Regions from separate parts of the Homo sapiens genome. Here regions 1, 2, 3, 5 and 6 are each linked to region 4. Evidence: promoter capture Hi-C in 16 types of primary human blood cells and fetal thymus (Javierre and others, 2016). All regions are on one chromosome and are shown on one strand. Each heading gives the region's core, a stretch centred on a gene start or on the middle of the fragment in contact. The rest is flanking DNA. Distances are from core to core; before and after follow the strand shown. Region 1 holds the start of CHADL (chondroadherin like). Region 2 overlaps MRTFA (myocardin related transcription factor A). Region 3 overlaps EP300 (EP300 lysine acetyltransferase). Region 4 holds the start of SLC25A17 (solute carrier family 25 member 17). Region 5 overlaps EP300 (EP300 lysine acetyltransferase). Region 6 overlaps EP300 (EP300 lysine acetyltransferase).

Region 1 (4,979 bases), core at 126-2,625, 420 kb before region 4:
AGTACACACAGATGTTCATTGTTTAACATATATAAATATATATAAACATATACATTTATATTTTTATTATATATAAATATATACACACATAAGTGTATACACACACACATACATATATATATATATATATATATATATATATATATATATATATATATATATGTATATATTTTTTTTCTTTTTTGAGACAGTTTCACTCTGTTGCCCAGGCTAGAGTGCAGTGGCGCCATCTCGGCTCTCGCGTTCATGCCATTTGCCTGCCTCAGCCTCCCAAGTAGCTGGGACTACAGGCGCCTGCCACCACACCCGGCTAATTTTTTGTACTTTTAGTAGAGATAGGGTTTCACTGTGTTAGCCAGGATGGTCTTGATCTCGACCTCGTGATCCACCCGCCTCCGCCTCCCAAAGTGCTGGGATTACAGGCGTGAGCCACCGCGCCCGGCCTTTTTTTTTTCTCTTGAGACAGAGTCTGTGTTGCCCAGGCTGGTCTCAAACTCCTGGGCTCAAGTGATCCTCCCACCTCAGCCTCCCAAAGTGCTGGGATTACAGGCATGAGCCACTGTGCCTGACCCCTGTTTCCAATTAAAGGAACAAACAGTAGAAGATGCAATTCCATCAGAAGCAGGAATCTGAAAAATCAAGATACATGAACATTGGCCATGGTCTGGATGTATTATTTAAAAAACAAACACGAGCTTGGGAAGATGCGTATTTGGATATTCTTTGCAATATTGTTTGTAAATAGCAAAAAATTGGAGGTAGCCAATGTCCAAGATGAATGGCTAAGTCAATGTGATACATTTACACAATGGAATACTATATACCACAGAATAATGAGATTCGGAAGAGTCAATTTGGATAACTCCCAGTAATCTGAGGTTAAGTGAAAAAAATGAGTGTCTAGAATCCTGTGTGTCCAGTATTAAACTATTTATGTCAATGTGTAAGCACAAACGGAAGGAAAGGGTCACCTGTTCTGAAGCACCCACTGTGTGCCAGGTGCGGGCCTGAACCCCCACTGTGACCTCAGAGCTACTTATTAATGGGATGTGTTTTTCAGAGACTAGGAAGCAGCCTCTGGGAGGGCAGCCCACATGGCAGGAGGGAGCCCAGGACTGCTGACTCCCGGGCCAGCTGCTGGTGCCCCCTCCCTGTCGGGCTGGCCCAAGGATTCAGGCCGGGGCCTCAGTCCTCGGCTGGGGCAGGCAGGAGGCCCTGTAACTCCAGCCGCTGCTCCCGCCCGCCGCCCGCCCCTTCTTCACCTCAGCCTGGGGAAGCCTGGCTTGCCTGGTCTGCCGACAATGCCTCCCATTCAGCCCTGTCCCAGCTGCCAGGCCTGCGGGCCGTGGAGGGGGGCTCCTGCCAGGCGGGGACAGCCTGTCCCTGCGCTGCGCCTCCAGGCTGGACCAGCAGTTCCAGGCGGCATGGAGGGGTGAGTCTTTGGGCCCGATGGTGCAAGGGGGGATTCAGAGCAGCTCAGTGGCCTCAGGTAAGTCTCTGCCCCCTCTGGGCCTCTCAGAGGCTGGCGGGCAGGGGCTCTGGGGACTTCCTGGGGTTCTCCAGGAAGGGGGTCTCCCAAGGTGGGCTCTGAGACACGTGGCAATGTGGCCACTGCCAGGAACTGGTCCTCTGGGGCTTGTCTGAGAGCCCAGCAGTGGTCCCTGCATTATGAATGCTTGTCGCTTCAGCGATCTGTCCCCATGGGTCCCCTCCCTGGCCTGCCCTGAGGCACAGCCTTCACCACAGGCTCTGGAGAAGCCACCAACTCCAACGCAGGGGCTGGAGCCTGGGACCCAAAGGAGACTCCAAAACAGACGATAGTCCAGTGAGCAGCGAGGGGGAGGCTCCTGGGGGCCGGGGAACAGCCCAGCGATGGGGGAGAGGCCATGCCTGACACAGGCTGAGAACAGAGGGGCCAGCTGGGCAGGGGAGGTGATCTATCATCCTAGCGCTTTGGGAGGCCAAGGTGGGACAATCACTTGAGGCCAGGAGTTCAAGACCAGCCCGGGCAACATAGCGAGACCCTGTCTCTACCAGAAGTAATTAAAAAATTAGCCAGGCGTGGTGGTGTGTGCCTGTAGTCCCAGCTACTCAAGAGGCTGAGGTGAGAGGATCACTTTAGCCCAGGAGGTGAAGGCTGCAGTAAGCCATAGTCATTCCACTGCACTCCAGACTCCAGCCTGGGCAACAGAGCAAGGCTTGTCTCTATTTAAACAAACAAACAAAAAAAGACTCAAGGACCCGGACTGGATGCCTCCCTCCTTTCTGGGGGGTACCATTATGCTCCTGCCACCTGGGAGCTGGCATCATATCAGTCTGAGGACAGGCTGCTTCCGAGCCTACCCTGGACCAGAGCCTCACCACAGCCTGAGAACATGCTCTGAACTGGAGTCATTCTCACAGTCAGCAAGTCCTCACTGAGCCATTGGGCAGAGGCAAAGGGACTAACCAGGTCACTTTTCTGAGCCTCGGTTTCCTCCCATGTAAAACAGGACTAATCATAGGACCTCCACTGCGTGGGGGGTGGGGGGCAGGGAGGCTCAGGGTGATTGGCACTTTCCTGGGCCCAAAGGAGGAGGCTCTGAGGGGTTTTTGGGGCAGGAGCTGCACCATGGCTGGGACTAAGTGAGGGACAGCATGTGGCCTCGGCCCTTGTGCACAACAGACTCTCCCTCCCCGTCCCAGGCCCCGGAGCTCCACCCATGTCCCCTTGGTGCTGCCGCTTCTTGTACTTCTGCTGCTGGCCCCGGCTAGGCAGGCCGCCGCCCAGCGCTGCCCACAGGCCTGCATCTGTGACAACTCCAGGCGACACGTTGCCTGCCGGTACCAGAACCTCACTGAGGTGCCAGACGCCATCCCTGAGGTCAGCAGGGCAGGAGCACAGGCACAGAGTGGCAGTGGGGCAAGGTGGGGACCCAGAGGGAGGAGCCTGGGCTGGGCACCAGTTGATCTGCCACCGCCTGCCCGGGAGACCTTGGCAAATTACTTCTCTTTGAGCCTCAGTTTACACTTCTGTAAAATGGGAATAATAAAAACCAGTAACAGGGAGATGATCTATTTAAAATCCTTACTGTGTGAATGGAATAAGTAGGTGACCCATAGATCGATACTGAATTCACTGCAGACCCTGTGGTGGAGAGGCGGGCTGTGGCAGGGTGAGGTGTGGTCTCTGCTCTGCAGAGTCATCAGCTAGTGGAGGAGAGAGAGCGAGGAGGCAGGGACAGCACAGTGTGAAAAATGCCACAGTGGGTGATGCCCAGGGCACTGGAGAGGAAGGCTTCCTGGAGGAGGTGTCAGGGGTCGGATGAAGAGAAATATGGGAAAGGTGACAGGAGAAAAGAGTGTTCCGGGGAAGAAGCAGCACTTGCAAAGGCGGGGTCCCTGCCTGGCTCAGCCCCACTTTCTCCTCGCTGTCCCCAGCTGACCCAGCGGCTGGACCTGCAGGGCAATTTGCTGAAGGTGATCCCCGCAGCCGCCTTCCAGGGCGTGCCTCACCTCACACACCTGGACCTGCGCCACTGCGAGGTGGAGCTGGTGGCCGAGGGCGCCTTCCGTGGCCTGGGCCGCCTGCTCCTGCTCAACCTGGCCTCCAACCACCTGCGTGAGCTGCCCCAGGAGGCGCTGGACGGGCTGGGCTCGTTGCGGCGGCTGGAGCTGGAGGGGAACGCACTGGAGGAGCTGCGGCCGGGGACGTTCGGGGCACTGGGTGCGCTGGCCACGCTAAACCTGGCCCACAACGCCCTGGTTTACCTGCCCGCCATGGCCTTCCAGGGGCTACTGCGCGTCCGCTGGCTGCGGCTGTCGCACAACGCGCTCAGCGTGCTGGCCCCCGAGGCCCTGGCTGGCCTGCCCGCCCTGAGACGGCTCAGCCTACACCACAACGAGCTCCAGGCTCTGCCCGGGCCTGTCTTGTCCCAGGCCCGCGGCCTGGCCCGTCTGGAGCTGGGCCACAACCCGCTCACCTACGCGGGCGAGGAGGACGGGCTGGCGCTGCCCGGCCTGCGGGAGCTGCTGCTGGACGGCGGGGCCCTGCAGGCCCTGGGTCCCAGGGCCTTCGCACACTGTCCGCGCCTGCACACCCTCGACCTCCGCGGGAACCAGCTAGACACCCTGCCCCCGCTGCAGGGCCCGGGCCAGCTGCGCCGGCTGCGGCTGCAGGGGAATCCGCTGTGGTGCGGCTGCCAGGCGCGGCCCCTACTCGAGTGGCTGGCGCGGGCGCGCGTGCGCTCGGACGGCGCGTGCCAGGGGCCGCGGCGCCTGCGGGGCGAGGCTCTGGACGCCCTGCGGCCCTGGGACCTGCGCTGCCCTGGGGACGCGGCGCAGGAAGAGGAAGAGCTGGAAGAGCGGGCTGTGGCCGGGCCCCGCGCCCCTCCGCGCGGCCCTCCGCGCGGCCCCGGGGAGGAGCGGGCAGTCGCGCCTTGCCCTCGCGCCTGCGTGTGCGTCCCCGAGTCCCGGCACAGCAGCTGCGAGGGCTGCGGCCTGCAGGCGGTGCCCCGCGGCTTCCCCAGCGACACCCAGCTCCTGGACCTGAGGCGGAACCACTTCCCCTCGGTGCCCCGAGCGGCCTTCCCCGGCCTGGGCCACCTGGTGTCGCTGCACCTGCAGCACTGCGGCATCGCGGAGCTGGAAGCGGGCGCCCTGGCCGGGCTGGGCCGCCTGATCTACCTGTACCTCTCCGACAACCAGCTCGCAGGCCTCAGCGCTGCTGCCCTTGAAGGGGCTCCCCGCCTCGGCTACCTGTACCTAGAACGCAACCGTTTCCTGCAGGTGCCAGGGGCTGCCCTGCGCGCCCTGCCCAGCCTCTTCTCCCTGCACCTGCAGGACAACGCTGTGGACCGCCTGGCACCTGGGGACCTGGGGAGAACACGGGCCTTGCGCTGGGTCTACCTGAGTGGAAACCGCATCACCGAAGTGTCCCTTGGGGCGCTGGGCCCAGCTCGGGAGCTGGAGAAGCTGCACCTGGACAGGAATCAGCTGCG
Region 2 (4,725 bases), core at 533-3,032, 380 kb after region 4:
GATTCAACCAAATTACAGCATTTGGTGACAGCAACACCTGAATATATCGACACATATACCATTTGGTTCAGGGCACTCTCACTGGTGTTTCTTCCTTACAAGGGTTCTGAGAGGTGGGCAGATTCTCACTCTGGAAGAAAATTAGACCCAGAAAGCAGTCAAAACCCATGTCACCCAGCAGTAATTGGTAGCACTCAGTACTAGAACACAGATCCCTTGACTGTCTATCCAGAACTTCTGTGAGGTTTCGAACCCGGTTGAGAACCAGAATTCTGGCTGTTTAGATGAAAGTTTAGAGCTCTGCCGCAGAATCCTCCTGTCCTCCTGTCACTAGTCACCTTGTGTCCGTTTCTTACAGAATACTCACTAATTCATCGAGTGAATAATTATTGAGGGTATACTGTGTGCCTGGTATTCTAGGCACTTGGGGAATGCTGTGAGTGACTAAAAAAATAGACAAAACCCTTGCTGTGCTCTGATGGGGACATGTTGTAAATGTAAACGTGGGAGACTGAGAGTAAACAAGAAAAGTATGTAGTATTCCGCCTTTTTTTTTTTTTTTTGAGACGGAGTCTTGCTCTGTCTCCCAGGCTGGAGTGCAGTGGCACTATCTTGGCGCACTGCAACCTCTGCCTCCTGAGTTCAAGTGATTCTCCTGCCTCAGTCTCCTGAGTAGCTGGGATTACAGGCACCCTCTACCATGCCTGTACAAAAATGTTTGTATTTTTAGTAGAGACGGGGTTTCACCATGTTGGCCAGGCTCGTCTCGAACTCCTTACCTCATGATCTGCCCACCTCGGCTTCCCAAAGTGCTGGGATTGCAGGCGTGAGCCACCATGCCCAGCCAGATACGTAGTATTTATATAAAGACTGTCAAGACAGTGATGAGTGCTGCGGAGAAAAATGAGGCAGAAAAGGAAGCTGGGGTGGGGTGGACAGTGTCCGTTTTCTCTTGATTCTTTGTACTTACTGTCTCATGCATGTGCTAAGCTTTCCAAGAGCCAAGGTTACGTGTGATGCATCACACCCGGGTTCCTGCAGAGCAGGACGTTTGGAGTTGAGCTAGCGTTACACAGTAGAAGCAGGTGCAGGGGGTGTCTATTTACCCACTGAAATGCCCACGACCTGCCCATGTAAGAAGTGGGGAATCCTGGATAGTGCCCAGGTAGGTTGGGGAGGTAACTTGTACTGGTTTTTCTTTGATGTTATTTGTTAAATCTAGAGCTCCCCCTTCTGTTAGAAGATGGGATCTCAGTAGTACTTTTAAGACTGTAGTTTCTTTTTTATCTTAAGATTCACAAAAAATTTTTAAAAATAAATACCACTGGGACAATTGAAGCTTTCTTCTGGGACTGCTGTTGCTGAGGCCCAGCCCCCCGCTGGGGGTGGAGAGGAAGGAGGAAGAAGCACAACGGCCCAGGCAGGATAGGGTCCTATCTATGCTCTCTTGCTACTTTTAGCAGCTCCTTAACCCTGCACTCCTACCGCAGCCAGCAGCCTAGCAAAAGTTATCTCTGCTCGCAGTTTCACAGCTCTTTGGAAATTCTAGGGCAGGAGAAGTGAAACTGACCACAGTCTTATAAATTTCTCTCTTATTGCCTCTGTTCCCTACTTGAAGTGAGTCAGGCCTTTCCCTCTCATCCTCAGAGTGTCTTAAGTTGCTATTTGTCCTTACAGCCAAGTTTTTGACAAAAGGAGTCAGACCTTCCATTCATGGTGCAGCCTTTCTGGAGGCTCTTGGTTTGGTCTTGCCACCTGAGTGTTGTTTGCAGAAGTCGAGACTTGTGGTCTTTGTGTGGTATCCCCAGAATAGAGCTGAGCCCTTCGTCTCAGCTGTCGGTTGTGTGTGTTCCTTCACATACAATTGCCATGGGGTTCTTTTAGTCCTTAGAGATGAAATTCAAGTTAATTTTAGCAGCACTATAAATAACAGGTGCAGTGAAGAAGGAAATAGTGCCGAGTGGACATATATCTTTTTGGTTTTAACTGTCCCATTGAAACAGTTTGGCCACTTTATGATTCCTCGTGAGGTTGAGGAAGTAAGGTTAATTTGGCATGCATCTGTGCCCCTTCCTGTGTGCAGGTGTCCTGAGAATAATGTGAGGCCTAGCAGGCGTTCTTGGAGTCCTAGCTGAAGGGGGATTTGCGGCTGACGGTCCAGTCATGGGCCAGGGTGTTTGTTAAAGTTACATTCCATGGGTGCACTTTATATAGCCCAAGCTTAGGCAGTGACAGTTCCCATTAGGAGTCATATTTTGGTTTCTACCAAAACTGTTTGAATGGGGTAGCTAAACCATAAAGATACATGCTTACTCAGGTGTCATTGCCTTCACTTCAACTGATATTTATAGTACTACTAACAGTAATGTGATTTTTTTTTTTTTTTTTTGGGGGACGGTTTCTCGCTCTGTTGCCCAGGCTAGAGTGCAGTGGCGCAATCTCGGCTTACTGCAAGCTCTGCCTCCCAGGTTCACGCCATTCTCCTGCCTCAGCCTCCCTTGTAGCTGGGACTTCAGGCGCCCACCACCACCACGCCTGGCTAATTTTTTGTATTTTTAGTAGAGACAGGGTTTCACCATGTTAGCCAGGATGGTCTCGATCTCCTGACCTCGTGATCTGCCTGCCTCAGCCTCCCAAAGTGTTGGGATTACAGGCGTGAGCCACCACGCCCAGCCAGTAACATGAATTTAAGATGCCTTCTCCACTGAATATCGTAGCACTAGACATGATGCTTCGCTTGAAGGTAATCTTTACGGTTCTTCTCTCAACAGCTTTGAAAAGTCCAGCCGCATTTCATGAGCAGAGAAGGAGCTTGGAGCGGGCCAGGGTAAGGTACCTTTTTTCCCCCTCAGAACTCCCAAAGAGCATTTTCAGAGCTCATTGCATTGCTGGTTATATTTCCATTTAGAGCTTTCCATAGAACTCTGAGGCCAGAGCCTGCTAGACTCTAGGGCCAGCCCTGGCCTTGTGGTTTTAAATGGAAAGCTCTGCTTCTCCTACTTCATCCCTTCTCTCATTTACCTCCCATGGTGATTATATGGAACATGATTGGAATGAGGTTTCTCTTTTTGTACATTTAAGGATATGGAATGATCACCCGATCCTCCTTGCCTGAATTTTGGAGTGCTTTGGAGACCACTGGTATTTCCCCATCTTTAATTCCACTTAACGTTTTGTAGATGTTGGGACACAAACATTAGCCAATGGAAAAGCTTCCCAAGTCCGGGGTTACACTGGCCACACCTCACAGGACGGGCATTCCAAGGGGCAGGAAACCTTCTTGGTCTCCATCTGCCCAGAGTAGGTGGTATCCACTTGACTCTTGTGGAAAGCAGAAACTGGCCCACACTCCAAGCCCAAGTTTTCTGCCACAGCACCTTACTTGCGTCCCCATCCCAACTCTGTTTCGGTTCCCCAGGGGCCCCTGAGGAATATTCTGCTGCCCAGTGTGGGTAGAGATGGGGAAGTCACCAGAACTTGCTTCCCCCTCACACTCCCTTTACTTTTTCCTTTCACATAAAATCATGGGAAGATAATCCCCCTAGACAGATCATGGGCTGCATCTCCTTAAGACCCACGGCTATTTTATTTTACTTTATTTTTTGAGACGGAGTCTCACTCTGTCACCCAGGCTGGAGTGCAGTGGCGTGATCTCAGTTCACCGCAGCCTCCGCCTACCAGATTCAAGCGATTCTCCTGCCTCAGCCTCCCAAGTAACTGGACCTACAGGCTCCCGCCACCACGCCTGGGTAATTTTTGTATTTTTAGTAGAGATGGGGTTTCACCATGTTGGCCAGCCTGGTCTCAAACTCTTGGCCTCAAGTGATCTGCCTGCCTTGCCCTTCCAAAGTCCTGGGATTACAGGCATGAGCCACCACACCCAGCCTCACAGCTATTTTAGAGTCTCAGAAATATTTACCTCCAAGACTTTTTTTTTTTTTTTTTAAACTTTCTTTCATTCCCCTCTCCCCAGAAAATCATGATTAATTCTTAGAGTAAGTGGAAAGAATGAGGTCATGGGTCCTGGGAACCAAAGGAGTAACAAGCAGCAGTGGTTTAGTTTGCTGAGAGCACTGGAGAGTACAGTGTTGGGGGAAAGGATGGCGTTGCCTGTGCGCCTATTCGGTCAGAAGACTGGGCACCATTTACTTGACTGCTTCTCAAATAGGCAGGGACCAGCAGAGCTGATTAGAAGAGACTGTTTTATTGAGCACCTTTATGTAAGAGGTTGTATCTGTTTCTTTTTTATCCTCACATCAACTCTTATGAATTAGGTGGTATTATCCTCATTTTATAGATGCAGCTAAGAGAAGTTAACTCACTTGTCCAGCCAATAAGTGGCAAAGCTGGGAGTCAAACCTTTGTGGATTCTAGATTTTTTTTGAGCAAAATGATTTTATTTCCTAACACATGGTAACCATAACGTTCAATTTGCTTACCATGCACATCTATTCACAAATGACTTCCACATTACAATAACTACTTCCATATTTACACATGTACTAAAAATTATCTTAGTTGAGATATGAAACATGAATATATTGGATTGGTTATAGCAGAATTTGCTTTACTTAATTCTAAAAGCTTAAAGCTTTGAAAAGCTGCTACTTTTGCATCTCATACTTCCAGATGAATAAGACACAGCAATATCAGCTCGTATTCAAGAGAAGTTTCATTTCTTTTTCTGGTGTTGGAACCAGCTGCTCACATCTGTGCGTGCTACAT
Region 3 (5,193 bases), core at 2,150-4,649, 350 kb before region 4:
GAGTGCTGGGATTACAGGTGTGAGCAGGTACAGCAGGCTGAGCACCAATGAGACTGGCGAATGCTGAGTTAGTTTCACCACCATACGCCTCCTGTTCCTTTTCCTGCTTTACCTCTTTGGTCTCTTGAGACTGACTATAAATAGAACTGAAATGCACATCCTGTGATTTTTTTCTCCTTCATTCAGTAACTCCTTCAGAGTAACAATGGTCTGGGTGAGGTATAGCACCATGCACAGTGGACATTTTGCCTCAAGGCAGTCTACTTTAAGATGCAATCCATGGTTTAACCTCAATCTAATTACAACAAACCAGACAAATCCAAATATGGAGACAGTATGAAAAACAACTGGCCTGGACTCATGAAGGTCCCCTATGCAACTTTCCTGTGTAACTTTTCCTACAGGTTTGGAAGGGAATGGAATGGATAAAAAATCTTAGTCTTTGTTGACAAAGCAATAAAATTCTTGTTCATTGAAGTTTGAAAAAACTTGTAACAACCATCAATTCTCATAACCATTAGTGTAAAAGGTATAAAAAGCTGGTATTACATATGTATTTGACATTAATTAGTATATAACTATAAACACCTATTAAAGTAATAAAATGTAAAACATCCCCTTAAGAAATTAGGAACTTGTGAGAAACTGCTGTACTGATAACAGATTATTCAACATCTGTGCACACTGGCAGCCACACTCACAGTCTCTGGCCAGCAATGTTCGCTGCTTCTGTCACCCTACAACCAGGCCAATACTTGGATTTACAACCTAAATTTAAACAGCCATGGAATGTGTCCACAATTTAAGTCAAACCTATTACAATATATTCTAAGGGCTTTTCCCAACTGCCTAGGATTCTGTGGCATTACTTACTGCTTGAAATAGCTAGTAACTATTAATTGTTAATAATCATTACCTAACGTATTAGAACTCAGGAATCCTTCCATTTCACTAGCATGGCTGAGATAATGGTTATTACCATTATTACATCGTAGCCCATTATTCTAGGCTAACAAAAAAGGGGTGGTGATGGGGGGAGCAGTGGGGGAAAAGATACTTTGAACACCTATGTATATAGGTGTTCACCATGATAACATCATTATAACAAATTCCTCTCTAAAAAAGATTTTGTTAACTATTTCTCTCCCAAAGAGACTGTTTAACCAATTTTTAGGTACGGAATTACAACCTGAAATCAAGCCTTCATTTCCCTCTCAACTTAATTACCACTTCCTATAAGAACTTGATTATATGTCTGAGAACCGAGATAGTAAAATGAGGAGTCTGACTGAACAATCGAGATTACTACCATTGGACAAACCCTGAGAGGAATTACTCTTCAATTCTCCTGGCTTTCGTTATCAATTATATGATATTAAAGAGAGAAAAAAAAAACCTTACCCAGTTATTTTCCCAAATGACTGCAAGAACAACTAAACAATGTAAATGATGAAATAACTCAAAAAGTTTTGAGAAGGGGGTTGTAAGTCCATATGTGGAAGTTTAACTTTTCTCCAATTCTATTTACTAATTCACTTTCAGAAAGGTTAAATCTTTTTATTTTTTGAAACAGAGTCTCGTTCTGTCACCCAGGCTGTAAGTGCACTGCAACCTCTGCCTCCCAGGTTCAAGTGATCCTCCCACCCCAGCATCCCAAGGATTACAGGTGTGTGCCACCACGCCAGGCTAATTTTTGTATTTTTAGTAGAGACGGGGTTTCGGTTCGCCATGTTGGCCAGGCTGGTCTCCAACTCCTGACCTCAAGTGATCCGCCTGCCTCAACCTCCAAAGTGCTGGGATTACAGGCATGAGCCACCACGCCCAGCGAACAGTCAGTGTTTTTATTCATTTCTTATTTCTTTTTCTGAGGTGGAGTTTCGCTCTTGTTGCCCAGGCTGGAGTGCAATGGAGTGACCTCGGCTCACTGCAATCTCCGCTTCTCAGGTTCAAGCAATTCTCCTGCCTCAGCCTCCTGAGTAGCTGGGATTACAGGCATGTGCCACCATGCCCAGCTAATTTTGTATTTTTAGTAGAGCAAGGTTTCACCGTGTTGGTCAGGCTGGTCTTGAACTCCTGACCTCAGGTGATCCACCCGCCTTGGCCTCCCAAAGTGCTGGGATTACAGGTGTGAGCCACCATGCCTGGCCAGAAATCTTGCCGTTTTTCCCCAACTCTGGGTGGCTGCATCTTACCTCTTTATGCTTCTCCATGGTGGCATATAGTTTCTGTGAGAGGTCGTTAGATACATTGGGCATCCCGGGTTTCTTCTTGTTGCCCCTACTCAGGCTGCTCTTATTTTTGCTGGTTTTCTTATTATTCTTCTTTTTAGCATTTTTGCTGTCTCCCTTGGTCACCTGCAGAGTAGCACAAAGGAGACAAGAAAATAAGGTTTTTGTTAAGTAATTTGGGAATAGCACAGAATATCTCCCTTCTTTGAAACTAGATATCATAATCTTATGCCTGTAACTTATTTTACTAGCTGTTCTCTTCACTTATTCTTTCTCCTTAAAGTTGTTATTTGACCTAATTTTCTCCCAGTGATCTTTAAGGCAATGGCAGCCCTTTAGCTTTTTGCCTAGAAGAGGCCACAGAATGTGCAGACCCTGTAGATTGATTGAATGTATCCCAGATTGGGGCTAGGGAACAAGGAAGGGGTGGCACTTTGGGGTAGTGAAGAGTGTATCAAAGTGGGGAGCCAGAAGACCTTGGTTTTATTTCCTTCCACTCATATTCTAAAATGTTATGAGCCTACAAATACTAAATGACAAGGCTGTAAGAGTTTGTTAACAGACTATTTAAGGGTGCCTTTTGTTAAGTTAAATTCAATGGAGGTAATTCGAGATATGCTATGGGGAAATAACTGGTGAGGTTACTAAGCCAGGCTTAGTAACTTAAATTCTGGCTCAGGCCTATTTTGTATAGCTAAGAATGGTTTTTTACATTTAAAAAGAGTGTGTTTTTAAAAGACAGAAAATATGCCAGAGATATGTGACCCACAAGGCCTATAATATTCATAACCTAGTCCTTCAGATAAGTAATCTTCTATCAGTTTTTCAGGATTTCCTTCAGTTTCTTTTATCATTTCACATTACTCAAAGTCTGAGATGCCATTTTAAAAGGGGCTCTGATGCTTTAAAAGTTTAATACCACTGAAACAGAACCCTAATAACCTCTCTAAGCCAATATTTCTTGTCCAACTTAAAGAGCTCTTTTACACCTGAAAGCTTTAAAACCCAATTGAAAGTTTAAGTGCACTTCTGGATTAAATATTAGAATCATGATAGAAGTTTCAAAGGAAACTCAATGCCCTTACATCTGTGCTTTCATTGCTGGTGTTTTCCTCTCGTTTTCTCTCTTCTTCCTCCTGTTCCAGTTCCTTAATGCTTTCTTCCAGAACATTGGGCCAGAAATCACCCTCGAAATAAGGCAATTCCTTTGCACTTGTTAATCTATCTTCAGTAGCTTGTTTAAAAATATCCTGTGAAAACATGCATGTACATATAGGAATTTCTATGTTCTTTTAAAGCATTGATTATACAGAATAATCATGGCTGACAAGAAACATGAAAGCTTAAAATGTCTTGAAAGCTGGCAGAGACTTTATACCTAAGCCGTAAGCCAGGGAGTATTTAGAAAAATAAATAGTGAAAAGGCCTGGCCTAAAGTCAATATTTCCGGTTTTCTATTTCTTCTACCCACAAAAACAGGGAGCTTATCTGCCTTTATATAACCAAGTGGCAATTATCCTGCCAGGATCAACGTCAGGGTGGTAGCACCATCATGCATGCCATGGCCCCTACCACTCCTTATCACAGAATATGTGGTATGAAGCATGCCCTCCTCACACCCATCCTTGGAATTTCAGCAGCTTTTACTGACAGCTTTGTTCAAAATGACCAAAACTACAAATACTGGAAATAGTATCTGCTGCAGAATGATTTGCTGGGCTGCTTAGGAAAACTTCTTTATTTAGTTGAACTACTAAATTGAGGAAGACAAGTCTGTATCATGAGACAACCTATATTTATGAATAACATAATACTGTTAATTAAGAATATATTTTTGGCCAGGTGCAGTGACTCACACCTGTAATCCCAGCACTTTGGGAGGCCGAGGCAGGTGGATCACCTGAGGTCAGGAGTTCGAGACCAGCCTGACCAATGTGGAGAAACCCCGTCTCTACTAAAAATAGAAAAAATTAGCCTGGCTTGGTGGTGCATGCCTGTAATCCCAGCTACTCGGGAGGCTGAGGTAGGACCATCACTTGAACCCAGGAGACTGCACCATTGCACTCCAGCCTGAAACTCCGTCCAAAAAAAAAAAAGGGAGAATATATTTTTGGCTGGGTGATGTGGCTCATGCCTATAATCCTAGCACTTTGGGAGGCTGAGGTGGGCAGATCACTTGAGCTCAGGAGTTTGAGACCAGCCTGGGCAACATGGTGACATCCTGTCTCTACAAAAAATATACAAAAATCAGCTAGCTCTCGTAGTGTGCACCTAGTCCCAGCAACTCAGGAAGCTGAGATGGGAGGATGGCTTGAGCCTGGGAGGCACAGGTTGCAATGAGCGGGTATCATGCCACTGCACCCTAGCCTGGGTGACAGAGAGTGACCCTTTCTGAAAACAAAACACCCACACCCCTAAAACCCTAACCAACCCAAACCAAACCAACAAAAAACCAAAACAAAAAGATATATTTTAAGGCCGGGCACAGTGGCTCATGCCTGTAATCCCAGCACTTTGGAATGCTTGAGGCCAAGAGTTCAAGTCCAGCCTGGGCAGCATGGCGATACCCCAACTCTATCCCCACCCTCCCCCCAAAAATAAATAAAATAAAATTTTGGTTACATGTTTAAAACAGGGATTTCTTGATCTACCGCTCTTCAAAACCTGGTTTTTCTTATATTGAAAAATTTTGAATATACAAAATAAAAGCAATCAAATTAGCATTTTTAGGAATTACATGCAAGAGGTAGAACAAGCAAGACTTTTGTTTAAAAAAAAAAAAAAAAGGCTGGGCACGGTGGCTCATGCCTGTAATCCCAGCACTTTGGGAGGCCAAGGCGGGCGGATCACAAGGTCAGGAGATCGAGACCATCCTGGCTAACACGGTGAAACCCCGTCTCTACTAAAAATACAAAAAAATTTAGCCGGGTGTGATGGCAGGAGCCTGTAGTCCCAGCTACTCAGG
Region 4 (5,045 bases), core at 2,195-4,694:
TGAAAATCTAGGCATCTAATACATAATTAAGTAGTTTACTCACACAGATCACTGGGACATTTTTAGATTGCAGGGTAAGTAACCTGACCATACTTAAGCCAGTGTAAAAGCAACATACACGAAATGGCAAGTACTAGCTAGGTTCCTTTAATTCTTATAGCATGGGTGTATATAGAATGGCCCTAAATTTTTTATATACTTTATGTAGTGTCAAGGGGTATGATGCTTATATAATTCAAAGGACCCTCTTTAAGGAAAAGAATGTAATTATGAACACTAAATTGGACACACAAGTAGATACTTGTTTAGAACGAAAAAAGCAGCCAAAAATTACAATCCTTAGGTTTTTTGAAACAGAATCTTTCTCTGTTGCCCACACTGGAGTGCAGTGATGCAATTGCAGCTCACTACAGCCTTGACCTGGGCTCAAGCAATCCTCCCACCTCAGCCTCCCAAGTAGATGGGACTGCAGGCATGCACCACCATGCCCATCTGTTTGTTTTTAACAGCAATGAGGTCTTACTTTGTTGTCCAGGCTGGTCTGGAACTCCTGGTTTCAAATAATCCTCCTGCCTCAGCCTCCCAAAGTGCAGGGATTACAGGCATGACCCCCTGTGCTCAACTAAGTTATAATTTTTAAAAATTATGTCTCAACCGGGCACGGTGGCTCACGCCTGTAATCCCAACACTTTGGGAGGCCAGGGGGTGGGGGGGGGGGTGAGGTCAGGAGTTCGAGACCAGCCTGGTCAACATGGTGAAACCCTGTCCCTAAAAAGTACAAAAATTAGCCAGGCGTGGTGGTGCATGCCTATAGTCCTAGCTACTCGGGAGGCTGAGGAAGGAGAATTGCTTGAACCTGGGAGGCAGAGGTTGCAGTGAGCTGAAGTTGCGCCATTGCACTCCAGCCTGGGCGACAAGAGCAAAACTGTCTCAAAAAAAAAAAAATATATATATATATATACGTATATGTGTGTATATATATATATATATATATATACGTATATATACGTATATATATATACGTATATATATATATATACGTGTATATATATATGTATGTATGTGTGTGTCTCGAACATCACAGCTTCATAGTTCCAGTTAATAACTGATGTAGCTATGCAGTGTCTACGTTTTTCAGTGCATACTGATTATATGAAAATGACTTTGGCTGGGTGCAGTGCTCACACCTCTAATTTGAGCACTTTGGGAGGCCGAGGTGTGTGGATCACCTGAGGTCAGGAGTTCGAGACCAGCCTGGCCAACATGGTGAAACCCTGTCTCCACTAAAAATACAAAAATGAGCCAGGTATGGGGGCGTGCACCTGTAGTCCCAGCTACTCGGGAGGCTGAGGCAGGAGAATCACTTGAACCCGGGAGATGGAGGCTAACATGAGTCAAGATCGCGTCACTGCACTCCAGCCTAGGTGACAGAGCGATACTCCGTCTCAAAAAAAAAAAAAAAAATACTGTTTTCAGTATGTCAGTCTTCAGTTGATCATGCTGGGCGCTGTGGCTCACACCTGTAATCCCAGCACTTTGGGAGGCCGAGGCGGGCGGACCACGAGGTCAAGAGATTTGAGACCATCCTGACCAACATGATGAAACCCCGTCTCTACTAAAAATACAAAAATTAGCTGGGCGTGGTAGCGCATGCCTGTAATCCCAGCTACTCGAGAGGCTGAGGTAGGAGAATCACTTGAACCCGGGAGGCGGAGGTTGCAGTGAGCCAAGCCTGGGCCACAAGAGTGAAACTCCATCTGAAAAAAAAAAAAAAGGTTGCAAGGCCCGGTACAGTGGCTCATGCCTGTAATACGAGCACTTTGGGTGGCTGAAGCAGGTGGATCACTTGAGCCCAGGAGTACAAGACCAGCCTGGACAACGCAGAGAAACACTGTCTCAGGTTTAAAAAAAAAAAAAAGCTGATCAAAATGTTTTTGGTATGTAAGATACAAAAACGTCAAAACAAAGTATTAACAATGTTTTCATAACTATGATGCATAATCCAGTATATTCTTGACAGCAAGCTCCCAATTTGATCAGGAGTCAATGAGAACTGAGTTCTCAAGTTTTACAGCCAACTAGTTTCTATGTTCCCATGCCAAAATAATCTTTTTTTTTTTTTTTTTAGGAGTCTCACTCTGTCCCAGGCTAGAGTGCAGTGGTGCAATCTTGGCTCACTGCAACCTTTGCTTCCTGGGTTCAAGCGATTCTCCTGCCTCAGCCTCCCTAGTAGCTGCAGTTTCAACATTGTAATTTCTACAAGGCGCGTGCCACCATGTCCGGCTAATTTTTTCTATTTTTAATAGAGACAGGGTTTTGCCATATGGGCCAGGCTTGTCTCAAACTTCTGACCTCAAGTGATCTGCCCGCTACGGCCTCCCAAAGTGCTAGGATTACAGGCCTGAGCCGCTGCGCCCAGCCCAAAATCATCTTCGCTTCACTTTTGGTCCTTCACTTTCACGTCATGATTCTATGGCGTGATGGGAATGTTCCTGGAAGCAGTATCTTCTGCAAATTTTGTGAAAACGGCCAGGTTAAACTTTGTTAGACCCCTCTCCCAGGGATTAAGTGTGATGATGGGCATAAAACACTAAGCCTGGCATGTAGTCAGCACTGAGGAGTTATCACGAGGATATTCTAAAAGGAAACATGGTAAAGACAAGTGGTGATGGTGTCTCAGGAAAGAATCCCTGAGTCCCTGAGGAGCATCCTGAAGCAGAATCTCACAGTATGACAGGTTAAAGCTGAATGTGGCTGCTTTAGTTTTGTGTAATTTTGTTAGTCACTTTGCAACATGGAAAAAAATTTTTTTCCTTCAGTATTTTATGAAGTACTACTACATAAATTGGCTTTCGTAATCCTCACAGCAGATGGGGATTGTTGGTACTAGTACATTGTCATTTCACAGAGGAAACCCAAGAGGTTAAATGACTTCCATAGTTGCCAACTAGGGGGAGGCTCCCACTCGCGTCTTGTATTTTGGGCTCCTGATGCTCAACATCTCTTCCCACCACACTCAAGGGTTTTTCTGGAGGAAGAAGTTTCCAAGTCCACAAGTGAGTTTTTTTCCTCTTGGCCAAAATGTGACTTTCAGAATAGAAAAGAGCTCAGGCGCAGAGAAACAGGGAGACTGGAGTCTCATTGAGTTTCCCCATCTTTGTCACCAGAGTAAAAGAAGGCCATTAAGACTTCTGAGATGGAGGAACTGGTCAGGGCCCGGGAACGCCAGAGAACGTCGGAGGAACCGGGAGCCGGGTACCTGGTGTCAGGCCGCCTTGCGCCTTGGAGCCCAGCCCCGCGAACACCTCGCTGTCCCGCCCCGCGCCCACAGGGGCCAATCAGCGTTCAGGGGCGTTCTTAGCCGCCCCCCCCCCCCCGCTTTCCCGCCCCGCGACCCGGAAGTGGTTCTAGGGCAGGCGGGCGGGTTTGAGAGGGCGGGGATTGCGACTCTCACACCCTGAGCTCCGGTGCTCCTTTCCTAACTCCACTGGCTGCGGCATCTGTGGGAAAAGTGTGGCTGGGTCTTCGAGGAGCCGCACCAATGGCTTCCGTGCTGTCCTACGAAAGCCTGGTCCACGCCGTGGCCGGAGCCGTGGTGAGACGGGGTCTTTACGCCCGGGCCGCAACGGGTTATAAGGCTTCTCGGGGGCCAGTCCCGGGATATGCCTGAGGGATGGGTCTGAGAGGGAGGTAGTGTGGGTTGGGGTCCACTGTCATGACTGTGGGGCAGAGAGGAATGGGCCATTGGCGGAAAGTTGTTGGAGGAATTCGGGGTAAGGGCCGAGACTCCGCCACCTCCTGGTCTCCTAGAGACTGCGGGGTAGAGAGCCGTGTTCACACGTGCCCGCTCAGGGTCCGCATCTTTGCCGTGGGAAGTTTAAGGTCAGGCTACCACCGCACACTCACACACTTTGCTTTACTGGCCCGGAGGAGAACGTAGGTGTGAAGCCGTGTTGCTTAGTCACATGCTTCCCTACAGCCTGTCTTCACGCTTGCCGCGGGCAAGTGGCAATACCTAGTAGGATAGCTCTGGGCACCGTTATTGGCAGGAGAAGATAGATCCTTTTTTTTTTTTTTTTTTTTCCGGACAGGGTCTTGCTCTGTTGCCCAAGCTGGAGTGCAGTGGCGCGATCACGACTCACTGCAGCCTCGATCTCCCGGGCTCCAGCGATCCGCCCACCTCAGCTTCCTGAGTAGCTGGGACTGCAGGTGTGAGCCACCACACCCGGCTACATTTTTAAAAAAAATTTTTGGGGTCTGGCAGTGTTGCCCAGGCTGGTCTCGAATTCCTGGCCTCAAACGATCCTCTCGATTTGGCGTCCTAAACTGCTGGCATGAGCCACTGTGCCTGGCTTTTTTTTCTTTCTTTCTAAATCAAGATCTGGGTTCCTGTCTACCACAAGTGTGGTTTGTTATGAGGTATACGCTTGATTCTTGGGCTTCTGGTGTCTAGGTTCCACTTGACACTTCCCCTCTCCCCTCTTTTCCTTAAAACTTTCCACTTTTGGCTTGGGTGACTCCTCTTGTGGTTCTTTTATCTCTTTGACTGCCTTTTCTCATATTCTTCACCAGTTGTTAGCACACACCTTTAGCTGTTAAAATCACTGTGACTTCAGAGGAACATCACTGAATCCTCTGTTTAGCCTCCAGAAACTTCACTGAGAGCTCACCTTCTCTGTAGACTAATCTGGATTTAACCCTAACTCCATCATTTGTTAGCTAGATGCCCTGTAAACCTTACTTTCTTAATCTGTAAAGTGGGGGAAGTGATACCTACCTCACAGAGTTTAGAGAATTAAGTGACACAGCATTTCATGAAAATGCCTAATTCAGGAAGCCTGGTTCATTCAGTTCAGCCAGAAGAGCCTTTCAGCCAGCATGAAGGCTGAGATGGACGCTTGCGTGACTTGCTTTAAGATGGGCATGGAGGCCTGTGTTTCCGGAGTGGAGGGAACAAAGAGGCAAATAGGTTTCAGGGGGCCAAATTGTGTGAGACTTTCACTCTGGCTAGCTGTTGAACTTGCTGATTTACCTTTAAACGTGAT
Region 5 (4,665 bases), core at 1,873-4,372, 310 kb before region 4:
ATGACCATAGCTCACTGCAGCCTCAAACTCCCTAAGCAGTTCAATTCTATGCACTAGGGAAGCAGAAAAATTAAAAGGGAAAAAAACATTTATTCAACATAGTACAACACCACAGGTCCCTCACATAATCAAGTAGTACTATAAATGGCACTGGTGAGACTTTAAAACTTTTCATATAAACCTTCAAAAGATTTCATCACTTACGCTGTTGATTTCTCTTATCACCAGCATTTTTGAGGGGGAGACACACAGGACAATCATGTCTTGTACAATTCTTCCAGTGTGAAATGATTTGTCGAGAAGATGCACAGTGTGCCACTAAAGAGAAGAAAACATATTTTTTCAAGAGCAGGTTAATGTTTTTACATTAATAATAGCTAACTTGTTGACCACTTAATAAGTAACATAAATGCATTAACTTATTTCATCTTCCTAACAGCCCTATAAGGTAGCTCCTATTAATACTCAGAATTCACAGTCAAGAAAGGCAAAAAGAATGGGTAAGCAATTTGCACAAAGTCACAGAGTACTCAAAGTGAGATTCAACCTCAAGCAGTCTGGCTTAAGAGCCCTCATTTTTCACCATGCTATACACAACCTACTTTATTCTAAGCAAATGTACTCTAAACCAATGTTATGACACACATGCCTATAAGAACACTTTTTAATGACTTCATACAAATTGTATTAGATCGGGTAAAAATGACTGCAGTAAATTGTATTAAATTGAACACTTGCCTACATGACAGTTAGCAAACCCTCAATAACATTTAAAGTATGCTATGCTAGGGCAAATAAAAATCAAAGTCTATGAGGATCACCACATGGGAAGACCTTTAAAATTTATTCTCTTCTCACATCCTTAGATACTTGCTCACAAAAACGATAGTGTGTTTTGGCCGGGCGCGGTGGCTCACGCCTGTAATTCCAGCACTTTGGGAGGCCGAGGCGGGCGGATCACGAGGTCAGGAGATAGAGACCATCCTGGCTAACACAGTGAAACCCCGTCTCTACCAAAAATACAAAAAAAATTAGCCGCCATGGTGGCGGGCGCCTGTAGTCCCATCTACTCGGGAGGCTGAGGCAGGAGAATGGCATGAACCCAGGAGGCGGAGCTTGCGGTGAGCTGAGATCACACCACTGCACTCCAGCCTGGGCGACAGAGCGAGACTCCATCTCAAAAAAAAAACTGTGTTTTTATCATTTCCTAAAATAACGTCACTATCAGTAAAGGAGTCTCAAAATTGATTTTGTTTATGGCAGCTTTATTCGTAATTGCCACAGAATGGACGCAGCCAAGACGACCTTTACCGAGTGAGTTAACTGTGATGATGCATTTAGACAATGGAATTTTCTAAATGCTTTGGGGTATAAATATTTTTTAAATTGCACATATTGGCCAAGCGTGGTGGCTCACGCCTGTAATCCTAACACTTTGGGAGGCCAAGGCGGGTGGACCACAAGGTCAGGAGATTGAGACGATCCTGGCCAACACGGTAAAACCCCGTCTCCACTAAAAATACAAAAAATTAGCCGGGCATGGTGGTAGGCGCCTGCCTGTAGTCCCAGTTACTTGGGAGGCTGAGGCGGGAGAATGGCATGAACCTGGAAGGTGGAGTTTGCAGTGAGCCGAGATTGTGCCACCACACTCCAGCCTGGGAAACAGAGCGAGACTCTGTCTCAAAAAACAAATAAATAAAATAAAATAATTTTAAAAAATTACACATATGTACACTGTTTTTTTTTTGAAACAGGGTTTGGTTCTATCGTCCAGGCTGGAGTGCAGTGGTATGATGTCGAATCACACCAACCCCTGCCCTCTTGGGCTCAAGCCATCCTCCCACCTCAATCTCCCAAGTAGCTGGGACTACAGGAACACACCCAGACATCTGGCTGATTTTCTTTAGTATTTTTTTGTAGAGACGAGGTTTCACCATATTGCCCAGGCTGGTCTTGAACTCCTGACCTCAAGTGATCTGCCCACCTCAGTCTCCCAAAGTGCTGGGATGACAGGCATGAGCCACTGCGCCCAACCTTTTTTAAAGACATGGTCTCACATTGTCACCCAGGCTGGAGTACAGTGGCGCAATCATAGCCCCCTGCAGCCTTGACTTCCTGGGCTCAAGCAATCCTCCTTCCTCAGCCTTCTTAGTCCCTCAGCTAGGACTACAGGTGCATCATCATGCCCGGCGAGGTCTTGCTATGTTGTCCAGGCTGGTCTCAAACTCCTGGCCTCAAGCAATCCTCCCCATTTGGCCTACCAAAGTGCTGGGATTGTAAGTGTGAGACACCACACCTGGTCTAATGTATACATTTTGGTGACTTTGTACATACAGACACCATCACCACAATTAAGGTATTAAACATATCCATCACCACAAAATAGACTTGATCACATTTTCCTTCTTCTCCCTGGCTGTAAAAATTGCTAAGTACAGTAACCCTGTGGGTCCACTTACCTTGGCAAGACTTGCCTGACTGGCAGTGTGTCATGTGGTTTAGGACATTCTTCATTGTGCGACAGTGGGGAAGGTTGCACTGCCTCACTTCCCCATTGGCCTGTTCCCGGCGCTGGCACTTGTGAGCATGCAAAAGGAGAACAAGCTGCTGCTGGATGAGCTTGCGCTTCTCTGGATCAGCTGTATGTGCTCCAGAACCCATCCCTTGGGCAACTGGAGTCACCAGGCCTGGCTGCTGGACCTGCGGGGCTGGCTGTTGACCCTGAGAGATATAACAATATATTTAATGGTAGGAGTCATAATGTGCTATTTCTTAATAAATAGAGATGTGGATATTTTCAATGAAAACCTTTATGGTTAGTCTACTATAAGCCAGACTCCATTTTTTGACACAGGGAATGCATAAACCATGGCTCCTACCTTTAAGAAGCTCAATTTAATAAGAAAAAAAATGACATTACGAAGTGATATAAGTATGTATAATACACAGAGAGCAAAAGCAGAGAGAAGGACATGGTAAACTCCAGCGGGAGAGGGAAGGGTGAGAGGGTGTCTGTAGTTAAAAGCACACCCAAATTAGGTTTTAAAGAGCAATGAAGAACTCCTCAAGAGACTCAGCAGAGGGGTCTTTCGGGTTGGTGAAAAACTAGTTTTTCTAAACTCTGGGATAAATTTAGTTTTTTAAATTAAAAAGTGAAGATTTCAGGCCGGGCGCGGTGGCTCACGCCTGTAACCCTAGCACGTTGGGAGGCCGAGGCAGGCGGATCACCTGAGGTCGGGAGTTCGAGATCAGCCTGACCAACATGGAGAAACCCTGTCTCTACTAAAAATACAAAGTTAGCCGGGCATGATGGCACATGCCTGTAATCCCAGCTACTCAGAAGGCTGAGGCAGGAGAGTTGCTTGAAACCAGGAGGGAGAAGTTGCAGTGAGCCGAGATCGTACCACTGCACTCCAGCCTGGGCAACAAGAGCTAAACTCCGTCTCAAAAAAAAAAAAAAAAAAAAAAAAAAAAAAAAGTGAACATTTCTCGGGACAGAGATGACATGTTTCATTCATCTGTATAACTCCAGTACTTGGCAGAGTATCTCAAATATAGGCAGTCCATAAACATAATGACACAAAGGACAAAACTAAAACATCTGAAAGAGGATTTTTTCAGACAATGTTTTTCCAAAGTTGAATGCAGACACATTTACTACTAGTAGTTTGACTGTACAAAAATAACACTAGAAGTTCCTGAAAATTTTATTTAACAAAAATTGCTGTTTAAAACAATACATTACTTTTGAGAGGGAATTTACTTGGGTGTAGTAGAATCAAATAATATTGGTAAATATGGTCACTGAGAGTTCGGATCCTTTGCCAGAGATTCCTTCCCCCAAAAGTGAAAGGTTCCGCTTTCGTATCGTATGGAAACGCTCACAAGACCAAGTTGCTGAATGGCAGGCCCCTAAAACTTCATTGTAGCAGTTCACTTACTCCTGTTTGGATCAACATGCTCACTGATCAATAACCACATGGAACAAAAAAAACAGAGAAATGGAAAGGAAGCACAAGCCTCCTCACAGGGATCATCAAGTACATATCAATTTAGGCTCCTAGTGGGTACAAATCCCAGCATATATAACAGAAGGGTGAAAGTTTAACACAATTCTTTTGTCAAAATGCCAGTTTGAAAACAAGTCTGTAATGGATTAGTACTCACCATGTTGGGCATTCCTCCACCAGGAACTGCCTTTTTGTCCATAGCAAATGGAGATAAGTTATTTGATAGTACAGTTTTTGTCTGAATCTGGAGACCAAGGCCACTGGCTCCAATCTGCTGTCCAGGATTCTGAGTATATGGTGAACCATAAGGATTGGGGTTGTTCATCATTCCCATCTAAGAGTAAGAAACAAAAGAAAACAAAATAAGCAATAAAATTTAAGACATTATTATTCCTTTTCTGATTTCACTTCCAAGTTCACAAAGACAGTTTCAAAGGAAATTCTCAGCTTCTATTAGAAAAGACACTACAGCTTGGGCAACGTGACAAAACCCCATCTCTACTAAAAAATACAAAAATCTGGACATGGTGGCGCAAGCCTATAGTCCCAGCTAATTGGAAGGCTAAAGTGGGATTATCAGTGAAGCCTGGGAGGTAGAGGTTGTAGGGAGCCATGATGGCAAAAAACCAAGTGGCCGGGCCTGGCGACTCATACC
Region 6 (2,500 bases), core at 1-2,500, 340 kb before region 4:
ATATTCTCTTATCCCAGTCACCACTATATTATTCTAGGTATCCCAGAAAAGTTAAAGTCAAATCTGAAACACATTTCTTACCTTTCTGCCACAACAGTATCCAAGGCTTTGCATCACTGGGTCAATTTCTTGTTCAAAGACCTCAGAGAGCTTGGAGCAGTATTTGTATACCCGTGATGTTTTCCGGTTATATAACCAGGCATTATTGAACATAAGCCAAATATCATCGACATACTGCCAGGGCTCCTGATACTGTCCAGTGTCTAACTTCCTCTTAATGGTAGAAAGATCCATGGGGCTCTTCACAATATCAAAGTAATCCTAGAAAGACAAGTGACATCAAACATTACTCAAGTCTCACTATTTTTACGGGAGATGGAGTATCATCCATTATCATTGTTAATTTTCCAGGCAGTGTTTTAGTTTCTGGCCTGTCTATATTCCCCAAGAGGTGACTGATGTCCATCACTTCTTTAAATATTAGTTTACAGAGATATTAAACTACTCAAAGGGCAGAGAAACAGAACTACTATGGACTTTCTAGACATCAGGCTGATATTCTACTGAAGCAACTTCAGGTTCTTTATGAAAGTACATGTGAGATCAGTAAAGTCAAAGACATTTAAAATTTTAGTACTAGAAGGGGTGTACAATGAGGAAACTAAGCCCACAGAACTTAAAATGTTCCATCTGAAATCACAGCAAGATACAAGAGAGGAAAAGTCCTAAAAGGCTTTTGCCCCTGGAAGCACTTGACCTTTGAGATGGAGTCTCTGTCAACATGTTGCCCAGGCTGGAGTGCAGTGGTGCAATCTTGGCTCAGTGCAACCTCTGCCTCCCAGGGTCGTTCAAACTATTCACCTGCCTCAGCCTCCCAAGTAGCCAGGATTACAGGCGTGCACCACCACGCCCAGTTACTTTTTATATTTTTAGTAGAGATGGGGTTTCACCATGTTGGTGAGGCTGGTCTCCAACTCCTGAACTCAAGTGATCTGCCTGCCTTGGCCTCCAAAAGTGTTGGGATTACAGGCGTTAGCCACCGTGCCCGGCCAAGTAACAGTTTAAAACCACCAAATGAAATCTGCCAGCAGCCTAGTATATGGAGGCAACTTTAAAAACAAAGCTAACCACGGTCCTTTTTTCTGCTATGACCTATTGCTCTTGAAACAACGAAAGTGGCCGGGTGCGGTGGCTCACGCCTGTAATCTGGGCATTCTGGGAGGCCGAGGTGGGTGGATCATCTGAGGTTGGGAGTTTGAGACCAGCCTGACCAACATACAGAAACCCCATCTCTACTAAAAATACAAAATTAGCCGGGCATGGTGGCACATGCCTGTAATCCCAGCTACTCGGGAGGCTGAGAGGTAGGAGAACTGCTTGAACCCGGGAGGGGGAGGTTGAGGTGAACTGAGATTGCGCCATTGCACTCTAGCCTGGGCAACAAGAGTGAAACTCCATCTCAAAAAAACAAAAAACAAATAACAACAACAAAAAAGTAAACAAACTATATAACCCAGGAATTCCACTCCTAGGTAAATACCAAGGAGAAATAAAAACTTAAATCCACACAATGTTCACTACAGTCCTATCTTAATAGTCAAAACGTGTAAACAACCTAAATGTCTATCAACTCATCAACAGGTAAAGAAAAATAATGGAATATTATTGGGCTATAAATAGGTATGTGCTACTGATTCATGCTACAACATGGATGAACCTTGAAAACATTATGCTAAGGAACGTCCTGGCACAAAGAATCACATACTGTATGTTCCAATTTAATGAAACATGTAGAACAGACAAATCCAGAGACAGAATGCAGTCTGGTGATGTCTAGGATTGGGGTGCTATGGGAGAAAATAGTGAGTGACTGTTAATGGTAAAGGATTTTTTTCAGATGATGAAAATGAAAGTGTCATGCACAACTCTGTGAATATACTAAAACTCCCTGAATTAGGCCAGGCCCAGTGGCTCACACCTGTAATTCCAGCACTCTGGGAGGCTGAGATGGGCCTATTGCTTGAGTCCAGGCGTTCAAGACCAGCCTGGGCAACATGGCGAAACCCCGTCTCTACTAAAAAATACAAAAAACTAGCCAGGTGAGGTGGCACATGAATGTAGTTATCCCAGCTACTCAGGATGCTGAGGTGGGAGAATCACCTGAGCCCGGGAGGTGGAGACAGTAGTGAGCCACGATCGTGCCACTGCACTCCAGCCTAGGCAACCAGAATAAGACCCTGTCTCAGGGGGAAAAAAAAAAAATCACTGAATTACAAATTTGAAATGAGTGGCTATACTGTTTGGAATGTGAATTATCTCTCAATAAAGCTGTTATCAAATTAAAAAATAAAATCAAAAGTACCACCAAATACTTACAGGGATTCCTAAAAGCTGAGGGTCCACAGGTTGACGAAAGGGAAGGGATTCTGGATCCTGACGGTAAAGTGCCTCCAAAGTTGGCATCAGTGCCTGTCGTAGTTCTTCTGGTTTGAAAACTTAA

Evidence for each region. Contacts are between HindIII fragments. The CHiCAGO score rates a contact against its expected background, and 5 or more counts as called.
Region 1: the fragment with the promoter of CHADL here is called in contact with the fragment with the promoter of SLC25A17 in region 4 in 5 of 17 cell types (neutrophils, monocytes, M1 macrophages and 2 more); the score reaches 12.4 in neutrophils.
Region 2: a contact is called between a fragment that was not itself captured here and the fragment with the promoter of SLC25A17 in region 4, in 1 of 17 cell types (naive B cells). The highest score is 5.4, in naive B cells.
Region 3: a contact is called between a fragment that was not itself captured here and the fragment with the promoter of SLC25A17 in region 4, in 5 of 17 cell types (M2 macrophages, M0 macrophages, M1 macrophages and 2 more). The highest score is 13.1, in M2 macrophages.
Region 5: a fragment that was not itself captured here is called in contact with the fragment with the promoter of SLC25A17 in region 4 in 1 of 17 cell types (M2 macrophages); the score reaches 7.8 in M2 macrophages.
Region 6: a fragment that was not itself captured here is called in contact with the fragment with the promoter of SLC25A17 in region 4 in 5 of 17 cell types (M2 macrophages, M0 macrophages, M1 macrophages and 2 more); the score reaches 16.3 in M2 macrophages.

The regions. Positions count from the first base shown.
Region 1 is chr22:41,237,327-41,242,305 of GRCh38, reverse strand. CHADL (chondroadherin like) reads left to right here and starts at 1,375. Exons shown (of 6, transcript NM_138481.2): 1 at 1,375-1,432; 2 at 2,686-2,863; 3 at 3,421-4,979. The coding sequence starts at 1,425. RefSeq lists enhancers at 771-1,271, 1,272-1,772, 3,222-3,809, 3,810-4,398, 4,399-4,979 and silencers at 4,085-4,464, 4,525-4,624. The HindIII fragment of the contact is 52,914 bases long and covers 1-4,979 here.
Region 2 is chr22:40,433,601-40,438,325 of GRCh38, reverse strand. It overlaps MRTFA (myocardin related transcription factor A), which reads left to right. Exons shown (of 15, transcript NM_020831.6): 5 at 2,772-2,827. Among named protein-coding and RNA genes, the nearest start is that of SGSM3, 65 kb to the right of the region's middle. RefSeq lists enhancers at 1,296-1,345, 1,416-1,465, 1,586-1,715, 1,976-2,035. The HindIII fragment of the contact is 881 bases long and covers 1,342-2,222 here.
Region 3 is chr22:41,170,784-41,175,976 of GRCh38, reverse strand. It overlaps EP300 (EP300 lysine acetyltransferase), which reads right to left. Exons shown (of 31, transcript NM_001429.4): 28 at 3,314-3,478; 29 at 2,193-2,354. Among named protein-coding and RNA genes, the nearest start is that of EP300-AS1, 24 kb to the left of the region's middle. The HindIII fragment of the contact is 346 bases long and covers 3,227-3,572 here.
Region 4 is chr22:40,817,745-40,822,789 of GRCh38, reverse strand. It overlaps SLC25A17 (solute carrier family 25 member 17), which reads left to right and starts at 3,444. Exons shown (of 9, transcript NM_006358.4): 1 at 3,444-3,595. The coding sequence starts at 3,542. The HindIII fragment of the contact is 13,078 bases long and covers 1-5,045 here.
Region 5 is chr22:41,125,543-41,130,207 of GRCh38, reverse strand. EP300 (EP300 lysine acetyltransferase) reads right to left here. Exons shown (of 31, transcript NM_001429.4): 3 at 4,168-4,344; 4 at 2,460-2,721; 5 at 205-318. Among named protein-coding and RNA genes, the nearest start is that of EP300, 35 kb to the right of the region's middle. The HindIII fragment of the contact is 7,598 bases long and covers 1-4,665 here.
Region 6 is chr22:41,154,990-41,157,489 of GRCh38, reverse strand. It overlaps EP300 (EP300 lysine acetyltransferase), which reads right to left. Exons shown (of 31, transcript NM_001429.4): 17 at 2,377-2,495; 18 at 82-321. Among named protein-coding and RNA genes, the nearest start is that of EP300-AS1, 41 kb to the left of the region's middle. The HindIII fragment of the contact is 4,528 bases long and covers 1-2,500 here.